3 separate regions of the Homo sapiens genome follow, and regions 2 and 3 are each linked to region 1. The links are contacts of gene promoters, found by promoter capture Hi-C in blood cells and fetal thymus (Javierre and others, 2016). All regions are on one chromosome and are shown on one strand. Each heading gives the region's core, a stretch centred on a gene start or on the middle of the fragment in contact. The rest is flanking DNA. Distances are from core to core; before and after follow the strand shown.

What was found. Contacts are between HindIII fragments. The CHiCAGO score rates a contact against its expected background, and 5 or more counts as called.
Region 2: a fragment that was not itself captured here is called in contact with the fragment with the promoter of NKAIN2 in region 1 in 6 of 17 cell types (monocytes, M1 macrophages, M0 macrophages and 3 more); the score reaches 12.2 in monocytes.
Region 3: a contact is called between a fragment that was not itself captured here and the fragment with the promoter of NKAIN2 in region 1, in 2 of 17 cell types (M0 macrophages and endothelial precursors). The highest score is 7.7, in M0 macrophages.

What each region holds. Positions count from the first base shown.
Region 1 is chr6:123,802,593-123,805,169 of GRCh38, reverse strand. NKAIN2 (sodium/potassium transporting ATPase interacting 2) reads right to left here and starts at 1,305. Exons shown (of 7, transcript NM_001040214.3): 1 at 916-1,305. The coding sequence starts at 969. RefSeq lists an enhancer at 2,500-2,549. The HindIII fragment of the contact is 9,489 bases long and covers 1-2,577 here.
Region 2 is chr6:124,785,115-124,787,691 of GRCh38, reverse strand. All of the region lies in intron 4 of NKAIN2 (sodium/potassium transporting ATPase interacting 2), which reads right to left. Among named protein-coding and RNA genes, the nearest start is that of RNF217, 180 kb to the left of the region's middle. The HindIII fragment of the contact is 1,118 bases long and covers 748-1,865 here.
Region 3 is chr6:124,762,723-124,765,299 of GRCh38, reverse strand. All of the region lies in intron 4 of NKAIN2 (sodium/potassium transporting ATPase interacting 2), which reads right to left. Among named protein-coding and RNA genes, the nearest start is that of RNF217, 200 kb to the left of the region's middle. The HindIII fragment of the contact is 6,999 bases long and covers 1-2,577 here.

The DNA of each region.
Region 1 (2,577 bases), core at 56-2,555:
TAGCTCCTACCTCAAATTAACCACTTAGAGTGGTGTATTTTTCACCTCTCAACTCTCTACTCAGACCCTCCTTCCATTGCCCTTAGGGAATTGAAATTCAGAGACATGACGTTTTCCATTATTGGTTCCTTGCCCCTTTGCAACTGTACAACATTCCTCAAAAAGTACATAGAATTCTCCATCCTATAGGATCAGACAACAGTATCTATTTCAGGAGCAATAATATGCATAATGTAAGACAGAATAGTTTTTCTTGGAATTGTCTGTGTTAATTGTGATTTAAAGGTTACTGGTTCCGTCTATGACAATGGTGTTGCTGAGTTCACCTAAGTATTTTTGTTCAATCTGCATACTTTAAAAACTCAATGTGGCTAAAACTCAAACAGTCTAAATTAGACTGTTGTAAGGATACCATGTGCCCTAAACAGTGGTTTTTTTAGAGCATTATACTTAAAGACAACATTTTCCTTAAAAAAAGAAAAAAAACATGTCTATGAAGAAACAAAGATACTGCAAAATTAGTATAGAGAAGAAAAGTCCAAAATTCCGTATTCCTCTGTTTAACAACCTGTACGGTAAATTGTAGGTGACAATCACGTTGTTACATGAATAGGAATGCAAAGCATAAAGAACAAGAGCTACATCTTGCTTTTCCTAAAGAAATTAAAGACAAGTTTAACCCGCACCTGCCAAACTGTCTTAAAAGGGACAGAAATAGGTGGGAACGGAAAGGCTCACCTCTCCTGTACCCCAGAGTGCGTCTCCCTGAAATCATCTTCAATATAGGCAATATATCTGTCACCTTCTCTTTTATCTTTTTCGTCCATTCTAGTCAATGGCAGACCCTTTGCTGCACTCCCCTGCCCACTATCTCAAAGACACATTACAGAATAAGGGGACCCAAGTGTCACTTACCAGTTGCATGCCACAGATAAAGATAAGCGTGCACCTGCCACTGCAATAACCCATGGTTTCCGAGACCCCTGCCACAGCCAGACTGTCCCACGTCGGCCACCGTCGAGCCCCCACTTTATCCAATCAGATCGCGGGGAAGGACACGCAAACCTGCCGAGGGCTCGGGGGCTCCGGGCTGCTGCTGCTGCCAGCGTCCTGGGAAGTGACAGGCATTAGGACCTGCTGGCGCGGCGGCGGCGGCGGCGGCAGCTCCAGCCGCGCCCGCCACACATACCTTCACTCGCTCGGTGCACACGCCGCGCCGCGGGCAGTGCCGCCTGCGGAGGCGCGCTCGGGGCCCGCAGGGGCAGCAGCGGCAGCCTGGCAGCGCCGCCGCGCCCTCGGGCATCTGGCCCGCGAAGTTTCGCCCCTGCCGCTCTCCGCGCCGCTCGCCTCACGCCCCCCAGCGCGGCCGCCGCCCGACGCGCGCTCGCCCTGCGCTCGCCGCGCGCCGGCTCCGGGGGCGGCAGAAGCGCGCGAGGGCCGCTGCCCGCCTCCCTGCGCAGCCCGCGGCTCCTAGGCACCCTGCGTTGCTGGGCCCGGCGGGCGGGGGTGGGGCGGGGAGCGGGGCGCGGGCCGAGCGGGGGCGTCCCGGCTCCGCGGTCCCCGGCGGCTGCTGCAGCGGCTGCTGCGCGCAATGATGCGGGTCCGCGCCGCGTCCCAGCAGCGGCGCTGCCCCTCCCTTCGCCCAGATGTGTGAATCCTCCTCCTACAACAAATCCTTCATCCTGCTCCCTGCCGCCCCCTCCCAGGGGGCCAACTTTGAGGACCGCAGGGGCTGCCGCCCAGGCGGCCGCAGGCGGCGGTGTCTAGGCGGAAAGGAGCGGCGCGAAAGCGGCGGCGGCGGGGACCGGGGCCTCGGGGCGAGGAGTCTGGGCGGCATGACCGCGGTTTGCTGAGCTGAAGTCGGTCGTGCTCCCAGAGCCACTCCGCGGGAGCGAACCGAGTGTGTGTGTGCGCGCGCGCTCGGGGGAGAAGGGACCAAGAGGAGGGTTAGGGAAGGAAGCTGGGGTCATGGAACAGGGGTGCAACCGAGGCATCCAGAGCGGCCGGAAAGCCCGAGTGGCGGAGAGGCCAGAGGTGGCGAGAAGGGGCGCGGCGGCACCGGACGCACCGCCCAGCACCTGGCTCCCCTGGGCTCCCGAGGATCTGAAGGGTCGGAGCGCGGAGAGCTACGGAGCCGACCCTGCTTGGGGAAGGGGACCGAGTTGCTGCTGGAGTTGGGAAAAATTAGCAACCGGAGGGAATAGGGATGCAATGAGTTGCTGTTGCTGCTTCAAACTGTTGTTTGTTTTCACTTAAAATACTAAAGAGTCGGAGACTAGTTTAATACTCAGTTACTTCAGCTTCACAGCAGTCCCAGCTGGGTGTGGATTCCTAGTGGAGATGCACCAGCCTCCGCTGAGCACCGGCCTGAAAGCTGTGAAGCGGCTGCTACCTGCAGAGACAGGCTTCGGAGCCCGCTGCTGCCACCTGCGGGCGGAAAGCTGAAGGGCGCAACATGCTGGCCCAAGTGGCTGCCCCTGGGGCGTGGATATTTAGGACCAAGTTTCCTTTTTAGCCCTGGCAGCTAAGGAAAGCAATCCTAACTTTTCCAGGAAGTGAAGATTATTTGTTGAGATC
Region 2 (2,577 bases), core at 57-2,556, 980 kb before region 1:
TTCATGGGTCCAAATCCTTCCTGATGTGATACTTGTCTTCCTTTCTAGCCTCATCTCTCACCAATCCTTGTCAGAATTGATGTCAGTAGAAAGCTGTTGGTAGCTTGCTGACATCTATCAGGTAGCTTTCCTTCTCTGTTCCTTAACTCATTTTCCCAGTCTGCCAACAAAGAATGCTAATGCCCTGTACCTCTTCCTTCCCCTCCCTAGTCAGCCTTGCACCTCCAGTAATGAGTAATTCTAACTCATTCTTTTTTTGCATTTGTTTTTGAAAACAGAGTCCTGAGTTGCTAAGCTGGATATAAAGCTTTACATGGCAGTACTGCCTGCTTACTTCCCGGGTCTTCTTTTTAATTTTTTAATTCACTGTTATTTTAAGTTCTAGGGTTCATATGTAGGTTTGTTATACAGGTAAACTTGTGTCATGGGGGTTTGTTGTACAGATTATTTCATCTCCCGGTATTAAGCTGACCTTAAAGAATGAGTTAATATCCATCAGGAAAAACAACTAATGGACACTAATTCATTCTTTAAGGCTGAATAAAGGTGCTGCTTCCTCCAAGAACTGGTAATCCATTCTCGGAGTAGGTTGGTGCTTGGCACTTTTGAGATAGACCTTGAGAGGTGGGAGGGCTTGAAATGGAATAAAGAGGGGTACGGAGAGATGGAGAGTACATCTTCCAAGTGGAGTTTAGACTAGAGCTGGGAAGAAATAGGGAGGAGGAAGTGGCCCAGTTCAGAGAAGCTTGGGCTGTATAAAGGGAAGTAACACGGCACAAAGCAGATAATAGAGGCTCATGTTGTTAGAGTAGATATGAGTATCTTCAATTGAAAGAAAATAATTTTATTTTGTTCCTGATTTAAAGATGCTTAGAATAATAATGGAAGGGACCTGTGGCATTATCCTAGGCAAACACACAATTATCCACTAGTGAAAGAAATAAAATATTCTAGTTGTTTTAGTCTTTGTCATTCAAAGCAGAGCTAAGTATAATTTTTTTTTTATTTATCTTTTCACCTTCATGTATCTAATGTGATTTGTTCACTTCTAATTCACCTGGTAAGGAATTACATGTCATCTTGATATTATCACTGACTGGAAGGAAATGATATTTTCTCTGTATAACTAAATCAGATTAAAATTCTTTTTTGTATCCACAGACCAAATTATGATTGTATGTCCCAGAAATTCACTTAGAAGCTAATAGAAAAAATGAAACCAAAGCCTTTTGGTAAGTATTTTAAAAGATTTAATTGTAATAATTGAAAATATAGCAACCTTAGCGTTTAATCTATTACATTCTGGATTTCGGTTTCTGGGAAGTTGGAGCAATGGGAAGGATACCTTTCCCTATCTTTCCTATTAAGTATAACTAAAAACTCTGAACATTATATATATAACAATTACAAGAAGACTTTGAGGCAGACCAGCTATGGCCTTTGGTACTCAAAAAAGTACATGAGGGTGAATTCCATTATTATTATTATTTCATATACACCAGACTTACTTGGAGCTGAAGAAGCCTATAACTCTGAAATGCCAACAGGTACAGATTTTTTAAAAGCCCCAGTAAACCCTTGCTGTCTCTAGCCAAAAGACCAGAGAAAAGGGAAAAGGCAGCCTAGCAAGACAGAAAATTTTACAGTGATAGTACCTCTTTGTTTTAGCCAACACCATAGAAAACAGAACAAAACAAAACAAAAACACAAAAATTGTAGCCCCACTCCCCAACCACAGCAACAAAGAGTAGGGAGCCAAGACTTCCCCACTGCCTCATGAGTAAGTAATCCAGACTTTTAGCCTCACTCTCCAGTAACAAGGCAGACACTCTCTTCTCCCCACTGGGGTGATGTCAGTGGAAGCTTAGTAGAAGATCAGGACTTTTACCAATGCCCAGCAGTACTGAGGCCAGTCCGCCACCCCCATGGCATCAGTGAAAGCCACCTTGGAGCAGTAATAAGGCTCTTGCCAGATATGGAGCTATCAGTCAGAGGCTAGTGGGGGGCAGGACCTTCCACAGCCTCCCAAACTTAATGAAAAGCCCTTCCCACCTTAAGTCTCAATGGAGGCTAAGTGGGAACCCTGGACTTCTATCCCCAATTGGCAGAAATAAGTCAGCATCCCTCCTTCTCCCATCAAAACAGCATCAGAGGAATCAACTAAAATGAAAGGTTTAATTAAGATCTAGGGTCTCATAGCATAATACCCCAAATGTCCATGTTTCAATTAAAAATTACTAATCATACCAACAGTGAGGATGGCCTCAAACTGAATGAAAAGACAGCCAATGTAACCTAACCACAGAGGTGATAGAGATGTTAAGATTTTCTGACACATATTTTAGAGTAGACATCGCAAAAATGCTCCAATAAGCAATTACAAACATGCCTGAAATAAATTAAAATATTAGAAGGTCTCAGCAAAGAAACAGAATATATAAGGAAGAACCAAACTGAAAACTTAGAACTGAAAAATGTGGAGGTGACAGAGGAAAGAATCAGTGAACTTGAAGATTGAACAATAGAAATTACCTAAACTAAGAAACAGAGACAAAGTAAACTGGAAAACATGCACAG
Region 3 (2,577 bases), core at 54-2,553, 960 kb before region 1:
TTTGATAAAGCCATTGGAATTTCAGCAGGCTATTCATTGAGACTCTATTCTTACAGAACGGAGAGAAGCAGGTGCTTCCACTGCAACATGCTTTGATTGCATTTTTCTATTCACAGGTCATTTCAAAAGAATGTTACATGTTTCAGTGAGATCCAAATATCCAAATATTTAAGAAAATAATGATTAGAGTTAGCACTTAATACAGTAGCTTCCATCTGAGGGTCTTAGATATTATTTCATTATCTTTTAAAATATTATCTGGAGATTGCTTAAGTGGAAACAATATATTTATATTTTAAACCTAGTGGAACTTAGTTAAAGAACTCACCAAAAAGTTGAAAGCATTTAGGCATCCTTTTGATAAGTTCATTTGATATTCTGGATTTCACCTTAAAGTAACACAAATCAAGAGAATGAATAGGTTTTTTTTTGCATTAACATTTAATTGATAAAATTTTCCTTGGGATGCTTTACTCCTCTCAACCTGATTTCCTCCTGCCTGTTCTGACTCCAGGGTAAACAAAATAAAAGAATCCATTTATAGTCAACTTCAAGTGATAAGAAGCCATCTAGGAAGGCTCAAAGGTATCGACTCAAAGAAATATGATAAATACAGAAATAGATGGTTTAGTATTCAAAGCAAAAGCCTGAACACAGGTTTCTTAAAGCAAGGAGTGATAACAGAAGGCAGTTCTCCCTCCACCCCTAGACTGGAGTAATACTATAGACTCCTTCTAAGTTGTGGATTCTTAACCATTTTTATCCCATAGACTCTTCTGCCTGTCTCTTGTAGCTTACGGGCTGCTTCTCAGGATAGTTTTTCAAAGCATAAAACTAAATTCAACCAGTAAGATGAAACCAATTATCCAGAATTACAGTAATCAAAATATCTAAAAAATCATAACATTGACAAATATATTATTGGTGAATTTTTATTACCAATAAATAATGAGATCTGTCATCAGGTTTGATAACCCCCATAATTTTAAATTAGTGATAAGCATTAAAAAACTTTCAAGGTTTTCACAGTAATTGTAATGACCTATAAAAAATCTGCCTGTGTTGCCAATTTACTTTAAAGAGAAATGTTTTATTTCAGTTAGAAGTTAGTGAAAATAAAATATGCAATTATTTTCTCACCTCTGCTCAAGAACCCCATGTTAAGAACCTACAAATTAAAAAAGACTAGTTTCTTCCACTCCTCAGAATAAGTTCATAGATATCTAAAGAGCCAAAGACTATAGTTGGAGAAATACTGATATAAATAATGCAGAAGTGTCAGACTTTGTGAAGGGTGATCATAGGACCAAAGCAAACCACTGGTTTAGGTCCTTAAGAATATGTATATGAAAATTTCAGCTAAGTTTGGGGTCCAGTTATGACATAGGAAATGTTGAAACATTTGAGGGAAGCAAATGCTTTATAATACAGACTACTGTTAATATAGAGCTTATTTTATTTTTAAATTATATACACTTTAACTGACAAATAAAAACAGTATCTATGAATGTTGTTTAAAACACCATGTTTTAAAATATGTCTGTGGAATGGCTAAATCAATCTAGTTAACATATTTATTACCTTATATACTTATTTTTCATGTCGAGAACATTTAAAATCTGCTCTTTCAGCAGTTGTCAAGTAAACAACCCTTTATCAACTATAGTAACATGGGTTGGATTTGTGTCCCCACCCAAATCTCATGTTGAATTGTAATCCCAATGGTGAAGGTGGGGCCTGGTGGGAGATGATTGGATTATGGGGGCAGATTGCCCCCTTCGTGCTATTCTCCTGATAGTGACTGAGTTCTTGTGAGATGTGGTTGTTTAAAAGTGTGTGGCACCTCCCTCCATCTCTTGCTCCTGCTCCAGCTGTGTAAGAAGTGCCTCATTCCCTCTTTGCGTCTGCCATGACTGGCAGTTATCTGAGGCCTCCCCAGAAGTAGAAGCTGCTATGCTTCCTGTGCAGCCTGCAGAACTGTGAGCCAATTAAACCTCTTTTCTTTGTAAATAACCCAGTCTCACATATTTCTTTATAGCAGTGCAAGAACTAATATTATACATATAGTCACCATGTTGTACAATAGATCTCTTGAATTTATTCCTTCTGTCTAACTAAAAGTTTGAATGTTTTGGCTAAACAGCTCCCCAATCACCCTGCTTTCCCCCAACCCCATTTTACTCTCTGCTTCTATAAGTTCAACTTTTTTAGATTCTGCGTATAAGTGAGACATGGTGTTTGACTTTCTGTGCCTGGCCTATTGCACTTAGCATAATGTTCTCCAGGTTTACCCATTTTCAACACTGAACAGTACATGCAAACAAAAGAACTATCAAGAGCACTTTGACTTTAATTCTTTCCTGTCACTGACAGAATAAAATCCAAATTCCTCAGATTTACAGTGAAGTTCTACTTACCTTTTCTAGTCTGAAATCCCTCTAGACTTCTTCTTACCCAGGGGCACCCCTGCTCCTGCTCCTGCAAACCAACGCTCTCCGATAGTCAACATTCCAGCCAGATCAATTCTCTATTCTTTAATGAGTCCTTTGTTTTCCTGCCACTGGGATGTGTGCAATT